Regions from separate parts of the Homo sapiens genome. Here region 2 is linked to region 1. Evidence: promoter capture Hi-C in 16 types of primary human blood cells and fetal thymus (Javierre and others, 2016). All regions are on one chromosome and are shown on one strand. Each heading gives the region's core, a stretch centred on a gene start or on the middle of the fragment in contact. The rest is flanking DNA. Distances are from core to core; before and after follow the strand shown. Region 1 holds the start of OR4S1 (olfactory receptor family 4 subfamily S member 1). Region 2 holds the start of OR4C5 (olfactory receptor family 4 subfamily C member 5).

Evidence for each region. The method cuts DNA at HindIII sites, captures the fragments that hold promoters and counts their contacts. A CHiCAGO score of 5 or more calls a contact.
Region 2: a contact is called between the fragment with the promoter of OR4C5 here and the fragment with the promoter of OR4S1 in region 1, in 1 of 17 cell types (monocytes). The highest score is 6.0, in monocytes.

Annotation. Positions count from the first base shown.
Region 1 is chr11:48,304,050-48,308,154 of GRCh38, reverse strand. OR4S1 (olfactory receptor family 4 subfamily S member 1) reads right to left here and starts at 1,932. Exons shown (of 1, transcript NM_001004725.1): 1 at 1,003-1,932. The coding sequence starts at 1,932. The coding sequence ends at 1,003. The HindIII fragment of the contact is 12,544 bases long and covers 1-3,679 here.
Region 2 is chr11:48,364,546-48,368,650 of GRCh38, reverse strand. It overlaps OR4C5 (olfactory receptor family 4 subfamily C member 5), which reads left to right and starts at 2,186. Exons shown (of 1, transcript NM_001348223.2): 1 at 2,186-3,166. The coding sequence starts at 2,186. The coding sequence ends at 3,166. The HindIII fragment of the contact is 2,303 bases long and covers 1,172-3,474 here.

The sequences.
Region 1 (4,105 bases), core at 683-3,182:
AACAGACTTTGATTTAGGTCTTTACAAAGTCTTATAGGTCCTCTCACAGCCTTCTGAAGCTGGTATTGTCAATATCTCCTTCTGTAAATGTGGAAATTGAGGCCCAATGAGGTTACATGACCCACGAATGTTTAAGAGATACCTAATCCGGCTCGTTTAATTGCATTCTGTACAAACTTGGCTCCCTCTAGCGGCAAAATGGAGCAAAGCAACAGGGGTTAAAGAGGGCAGCAGTCAGCTGTTCTGCTGGAGAGAGGAATCAGCACCACTGAAAGAAGTGCTGACAACTTGTTCTTCCTGGTTGTTCTCTTCATCATCCCAAGTCATCATCACCATCATTCCTGGTCTTTCAAAAGTTCTTGGTCATTCCTGCTTGGTGTCCATTTAGTCACACTTTATCAAGAGGTCCTGAGGAAAAGCTCTGAAAGCTGACTTAGGGACCTGTGTTCTAGTCCTCACCCTGCTCTGGAGTTAAAGTGTAACTTTTAGTAAATCCCTTGACCTCTCCACATTATTTATTTACTTATTTATTTATTTATCTGCCTGCTGAGAGCATGAAAGGGTAAGAGTAAAGTGGCTCTTTACTCTTAAAAGAAAAGAATGAATTCCATTGAGCACTGTGTTAGCCAACACAAAGGAATTATGTAGTGATTTTATTCATTTATCAATGAGATATCTGGACTTCCAAGACACTCCCTCATTCACAGGCCCTCACACGTTTCCTGAATGAGCTCTTAAATATCGCACTAAAAGCATCCTGGACTGTACTCTCCTTGAGGGAAAGATTATATCTTACTTTTATTTGTATTCTCACTCACTGTAAACATCCAATAAATATTTAATGAATAAAGGATTGAAAGAATATGTGGAATTATTATAACAACAAGAGCTAGGAGGATAATTGCCATTGCAAACATCAGACTGGAAATAAAAAGGCTGTGTTAGATGCTACAAGATGGAAAGTCTCCCAATTTCCTAGCTGGATTGAGATTCTCTGGAATGTCACTTCTCCCCTAAGCTCCTCTTGACCCTAAACAGCTTCCTCATGGCATTTTTCACATCGTTGTTCCTTAGTGTATAGATCAAAGGGTTCAGCAAAGGTGGCATCACAATGTTAAAGAGGATGATAAGTTTGTCAGCAGCCAGGGTGGTGGAGGGACGAATGTACATGAACATGGGGGGCATGAGAACCAAAAGGACAGTGATTACGTGTGAGCCACATGTGGAGACAGCCTTACGCCGGTCCTCAGATGACTGGCTTCTTAGGTTCAGTAAGATGATAACATAGGAAATGATAAGGATAAAAAAGGATGCTAAAGAAATCATACCGCTGTTGGCCACCACGATGAGACCTACCATGTAGGTGTCTGCACAGGCCAACTTGAGCAGGGGATGAACATCACAGAAGAAGTTGTCTATCTCATTGGGCCCACAAAAAGGCAGCTGAACCGTGAGGAGGGTCTGCAGGATGGAATGCAGGAAGCCAGCTAACCAGGAGGCCCCCGCTAGCAGGCCACACTTCCGGCAATCCATGATGGCTGTGTAGTGCAGGGGCCTACAGATGGCCACATAGCGGTCATAGGCCATGGCTGTAAGGAGGAAGATCTCAGTGCCACCAAAGAAGTGGGCAGAAAAGAGCTGGGTCATGCAGCCATTGAAGGAGATGATCTTATGCTCCACAAAAGTGTCAGCAATCATCTTGGGTATGGTAGTGGATGGATAACATATGTCAGCAAAAGACAACTGGCTCAGGAAGAAATACATGGGAGACTTCAGGGTCTTTCTAGCATTGATGGTGATGATGACCAGAAGGTTCCCCAGGACAGTGAGCACATGAAAGAGGAAGAATACCACAAAGCATGTATGCTGCATCTCTCTGCTCTCAAAAAGGCCAAATAAAACAAACTCAGTCACATTGTTCTTGGCACCCATGGATTATCTGCCCTGATGACCGACAAAGTGGCTGGCTGGCTCTGCAAAGACATAAATTATGAGACATAAGAAAGTTTTCTGAGATACCACCAAGATTATGGAGTAAGAAAGATACTAGCCTTCATCCCCATCACAAAAAATACATATATAATATATATAATATATTATTATATATATATATAAATTATATATTATATATAATAATATATATTATATATATATAATATATAATATATATTATAATATATATTATATATATAATATATAATTTATATTATATATAATAATATATATAAATCTATAATATATAAATATATATATCTTAAATATATAATATATAAATATGTATATCTTATATATATATCTCTAGAGCGAGAGAGAGACAGCTATCCACAAACCAAAATAGGTCTGCGAGGGTTCAAGGGCCCATTAAAGAATCTGCAGCAATACAGAGGAGCAAAAACATGGAGAATAGCCGCACACGAAGGATTTCTAGTGATATCTGCATACTTGAGATGCCAGGAGATGGTTAGGAACAAACAGGAAAGGTTGAGGCAATTAGTATCAGCCATGTGGTGGTAGTCATCAAGATCCCTGCTTTGCAGAGAACGCTAGCATTTATGCCACTGAGATAACCAAGAGCCATTCCCACCAGGAAACCCTAGAGAGGGAGACACAACTGTACTGCCTCCACCTGCAAGAAGCAGATGCTATTGAGCTACTTTGGAAAAGGAGCTGCCACCTCCCCAACACCATGCAAACCCCAAACTGCAGCTGCCCCTTGAGAGCTCACACTCAGACCCAGGGTCTGGGACTGCACTGCACCCACCCATGTATCAGACACTGGGCCATCACTAGAGCAAGCTCTGGGCCCTGGAGTCAAGGTCTCTCTGGGCATGCCCACACTTTGGGCACCAGTTCACCCTCCACAGAAAGTTAGTCCCTACCCCAACTCCAGAGCCATTGTAACTCTACATATATCTATGCTCCCATTCTTGGCTCCCTGGCTGCTTCAAAGCATTCACACCTCTAGCACTGTTACCTATGTGGTGGCAGGAGTGTCTTCACCCTAAGCACCAGTGTCATTATCATTCCAGATCCCAGAACCATAGTTCCTTCAGGTGTGCCCATGACCCAAGCCTCAGTTACATGGCTGCACAATAGGTGCCACCCAAAATACACCTGTGCCACCAACATCAAGAGGAAGCACACATACCAGAACCATGTCAAATGGTTCCCTAAGCCACAACTTCCCCAGTGGGAGAAAATTAAATAAGGAAGACCTTAGCAGCCACTACCAGCAACGAGCCTGAAAACCCTTGCTGTCACTGCAAACATCCAAGAATTTGGCCACTGAGGATCCCTCAAATCTGGGTCAACATTGACGTCAGCTAACAGGGCCACACAAAGACTATAAAGCCACATCCCACTGGTGCCAAAACCAATCCATCCCACCCACTCAGTCCATCCCATTATATGCTTGTGTCAGTCTGGGCCACAAGGATTGCAAAGCACCATCATGCCCCATAAGAGAAAATCTTTCCACACTGAAATTAGCCAATGAAATTTGCAAGAGATGACTACTCCACCAAATGTGCAGACATCAATAAGAGGGTAACAAGAAACAATGAAACACCAAGAAATCATACCACCAAAAGAACACAATAATTTCCAAGTTGCTGACCCCAAAGAAATGGAGGTATGTAAACAGGCTGAAAAATAATTCAACATAATTGCTTTTAAAGCTTCATGAAGTAAAGGAAAATACAGAGAAATCATTTTTAAAAAATCAGGAACATAGTAAAAAACCAAAATGAGAAATTTAACACAGATATTGAAAATACATTAAAAATCAAATAAAAAAGAGAGAAGACTTATAAATAAAATGAGAAATGAAAGAAGAGACATTACAACTCATACCACAGAAATATGAAGAATCACAAAAGACTACTATGAACAATTATAGACTTACAAATTGAATAACCCAAAAGAAACAGATAAATTCCTGGCCACATACAATCTAACAAGACTGAATTATGAAGAAATAGAATATATGACCAAACCAATAATGAACAAAGAGAATGAACAAATAATAAAAGTTTTCCATCAAAGAAAATCCCAGGAACGGATTACTACTAAACTCTACCAAACATTTAAAGAACTAATGCCAATC
Region 2 (4,105 bases), core at 937-3,436, 60 kb before region 1:
AATGTTCACTTGACATAGAATAACTATAATTCATTTAACTGTTCCTCTTTATGTATATTTGGAGTTTTTTACCTTTTTATTAGTATAAAAATATTGTGAAATACAACTTGTATACATAATTTTGTCTATATTTTTTATCTAGAGTAGATTTCTAAACATAAGGAATACTGTGCCAAGGGTCATAACTAGTTACAAAACCCTTATTATAATAAGGGGTCAAACTTCTTTCTAGAATGTTTTATGTCAACACACATTCACCACCACTGAATAACACAACTATCATAAATCTTTGCCAATTCATCAGTATTTTACTGTTTTAAAATTGCATTTCTTTGGTAACTTATGAAAGAGGACTTTTTAGATGTCTAATGTTTTTTCTGAGAATTATCTTTTCTTAGTTTTACCCTTATTTACACCTTAATTCACACCTTAATAGTGTGAGTAAACATTTTAATTTGTTAACTGCTTTTATAATAACAGTTGTCATACTTGTTGCAATTATTTTTCCAAGGTGTTCCATACCTTTATGTAGCTGAGCTCATCAGTTTTGTTTTGTATCTTATACCATTATATTTTTATTTTAAAATATCCTTTCTTAGCTACAGATGAAATATATATTGATTTTTTTTTTGGTTTTGAAAAGATCTATGTTTTACCTGAAGTCTTTAATACATGCTATTCTTTTTTCTCTTTTTCTTTGGTTCTTTTTTTTCTTTTTTTGATGATTCCATTAAGAAGAGACTTATTTCGTTTTGAAAAACACCTATCTAGTTATTTTAAAATCTTTTATGAGCTACACATAATACCTTTCTAAATATTATTCACAAATAATATCCTTTGGTGGTATTACCATATTTGTTTCTTATTGAGCTCATTTCTATTCTTCAGTTTTCTTTGTATTTTTAAAATATCAAAAAGCTTTTTAATTTAGTTATCAAGTCTAATTTTTTATTGCCTGATGTCTTTCTGTGTTACACCTTTTTTTCTGAATATAATTGCTTGTTATTTACCTTGAGTTGAGTACTGAGTTCATTTATTTTCTCTCTTAATATTACAATGATAAATAACTTAAAGATAAAAATAATTATATGCAAAATTTTGTTTACTTGTGTTCTTTATCAAGATGTGGAGTACATGGTAAGCTATAGGTTTACCTTTAGGATACAAAGCTTGATATATTTAATCATGATATTCTTTAGTTCCTCCATTCCATTTGTTATTTTTCCCATTTTATATATGAAAAAGTTTAGGCACAATGAGACTAAGATCTGTACACAATATCATGTGGCTAATAGTCAGTGAAGATAAAATGTAAAAATTAGGCATCTGATTCTAAAAAACACTCTGTCCAATAAATTATGGTGCTTTTTTTCCCTCACCTTAAAATTATGTTTTCTAAACAGATCCATATAATTTTTCATAGTCATCCTTAAATTGGGTTTTGATTTGCAAAATGCCCTGAATTCTAAACATGACAGTTCTCCAAGTGAATTCTAAAGTTTCAGATACATCTGGGGAATGCTGCCTTGCATCATGCTGTTTTATCCTCTTCCAGGATATGCTTCCAGAAGTGTTTGATTGTATTCTTAGACAATTCTGTTTGGATGTGGCATAAATTCTCAAATCTAACTGCCATGGAGTATCTTACTGCAGCCTCAAACATTCACTCAGTTCAGTTGATTCTGAAATGTGGTGGCATCATCCTTAATTTCAAAGTGAACTCACCTGATGTTTTATAGTTACCCTGAAACAAGTTAAAAATAACCAGAATAACAAACTCTGCACCGTAGCCTCATGAACATGAGTGGTTAAAAAAAAAAAAAAAACGAAAAAAAAAAGAAACTAGGAAATTGACAGGAATTCAAGCCTCTGCTCCTCCTCTTTTTACTGCTGTTTTTCTATGGGGAAAAAAATGCTGTAAGGGTGATTGAGAGAATATCCATCCATGTACAATCATAGGAAAAATGCCTGACATGTCAACATCATAAAATCATGTTTGTGTACATAAATGAATGTGTGTATGTGTTTTTCTGTGTCTGTGTGTGTCTCTGTATGAGAGAGAAGAGGTATCTGTGTTCATTATGTCATGAATAACATAGCTCAACTTAGTCTTGGGTTTATAGATTTAGGGATTCCATCAGTGTTACAGAAAATAATCCTGACCAAAATTATTTTATTGTTCAAAATGTATGTGTCAAATTGCAATCCTTGTGCTATTCACAGAAAAATCAATTATCCAAATACCAAACTGGATTTCGAGCAAGTGAACAACATAACGGAATTCATCTTGCTTGGCCTGACACAGAACGCAGAGGCACAGAAACTCTTGTTTGCTGTGTTTACACTCATCTACTTTCTCACCATGGTAGACAACCTAATCATTGTGGTGACAATCACCACCAGCCCAGCCCTGGACTCCCCCGTGTATTTTTTTCTGTCTTTCTTTTCCTTCATAGATGGCTGCTCCTCTTCTACCATGGCCCCCAAAATGATATTTGACTTACTCACTGAAAAGAAAACTATTTCCTTCAGTGGGTGCATGACCCAGCTCTTTGTAGAACATTTCTTTGGGGGAGTTGAGATCATTCTGCTCGTGGTGATGGCCTATGACTGCTATGTGGCCATCTGCAAGCCCCTGTACTACCTGATCACAATGAACAGGCAGGTATGTGGCCTCCTGGTGGCCATGGCATGGGTCGGGGGATTTCTTCACGCTCTGATTCAAATGCTTTTAATAGTCTGGCTGCCCTTCTGTGGCCCCAATGTCATTGACCATTTCATCTGTGACCTTTTCCCTCTGCTAAAACTCTCCTGCACTGACACTCACGTCTTTGGACTCTTTGTTGCCGCCAACAGTGGGCTGATGTGTATGCTCATTTTTTCTATTCTTATTACCTCTTACGTCCTAATCCTCTGCTCACAGCGGAAGGCTCTCTCTACCTGCGCCTTCCATATCACTGTAGTCGTCCTATTCTTTGTTCCCTGTATATTGGTGTACCTTCGACCCATGATCACCTTCCCTATTGATAAAGCTGTGTCTGTGTTTTATACTGTGGTAACACCCATGTTAAACCCTTTAATCTACACCCTCAGAAACACAGAGGTGAAAAATGCCATGAAGCAGCTCTGGAGCCAAATAATCTGGGGTAACAATTTGTGTGATTAGAGAAGATAAACACAGAACCTACTCATATTTTAACAACAGGTATGACTAATGAAAAGGGTAAAGGTCTTGAGGTCAGAATAGTGAGTTTAAGTATATTTTATTCCCCTCATTTTCTGGAATCTTTAATGATGCCTTTTCATAAAAGATCAATATCTGATTAAATGATGACTAATGTTTCTGCCAATTTGAAACTTCTTCACATTTACAAATTATTAATCAGGGGGACATTGCTAGTCAACATAAAAATGTTACAGTGTATGGAAAACCCATGAGTTTATGTGTTTAGTAGAATAATTATCTGCAAAGCTTCGGTATAGAGTATATAACTAACAGGCCAAATAATTAAAATAAACAAAAAGACCTAATGGCTAAATCTTTTGTTGAAAATGCATAGTTTTAATCCCAACTAATAAAATCGAAGTAGAACTATTATTGTGAGAGAGAGAGATAGGTGAGAAACGATTGGGTTTTGAGGAATGAGAGTCGTTAAAGCAGCACTCATCCAAAATTAATGCTGTTGTGTTCACAACTCCAGGGGTGATCATTTACAGTATAATCTGGCTGTCTCCAGAATAAATTATTTTCTCTGTCTACAGCCAAAGAGGTGTAGAAAATTCATCCAGGTACAATCATAGAACAATCTTGGACATTATTTCTCAGGTAGAAGATATTTTGTGAAGCACTTTTTTTCTGTCGAAAATATCCTATACACCACTTCACCTCAAAAATGGCTTTTATTGGATGGATTTGTGCCTTAGCTAATAGAAACAAAGTAGCTGACCCAAAAGAGAATTGGTGGCTGGGTGTGGTGGCTCATGCCTGTAATGCCAACACTTTGGGAGGCAGAGGCAGGCAGATCACTAGAGGCCAGGAGTTTGAGGCCAGCCTGGCAAACATGGTAATATCCCATCTCTACTAAAAATAGAAAAATTAGCTGGG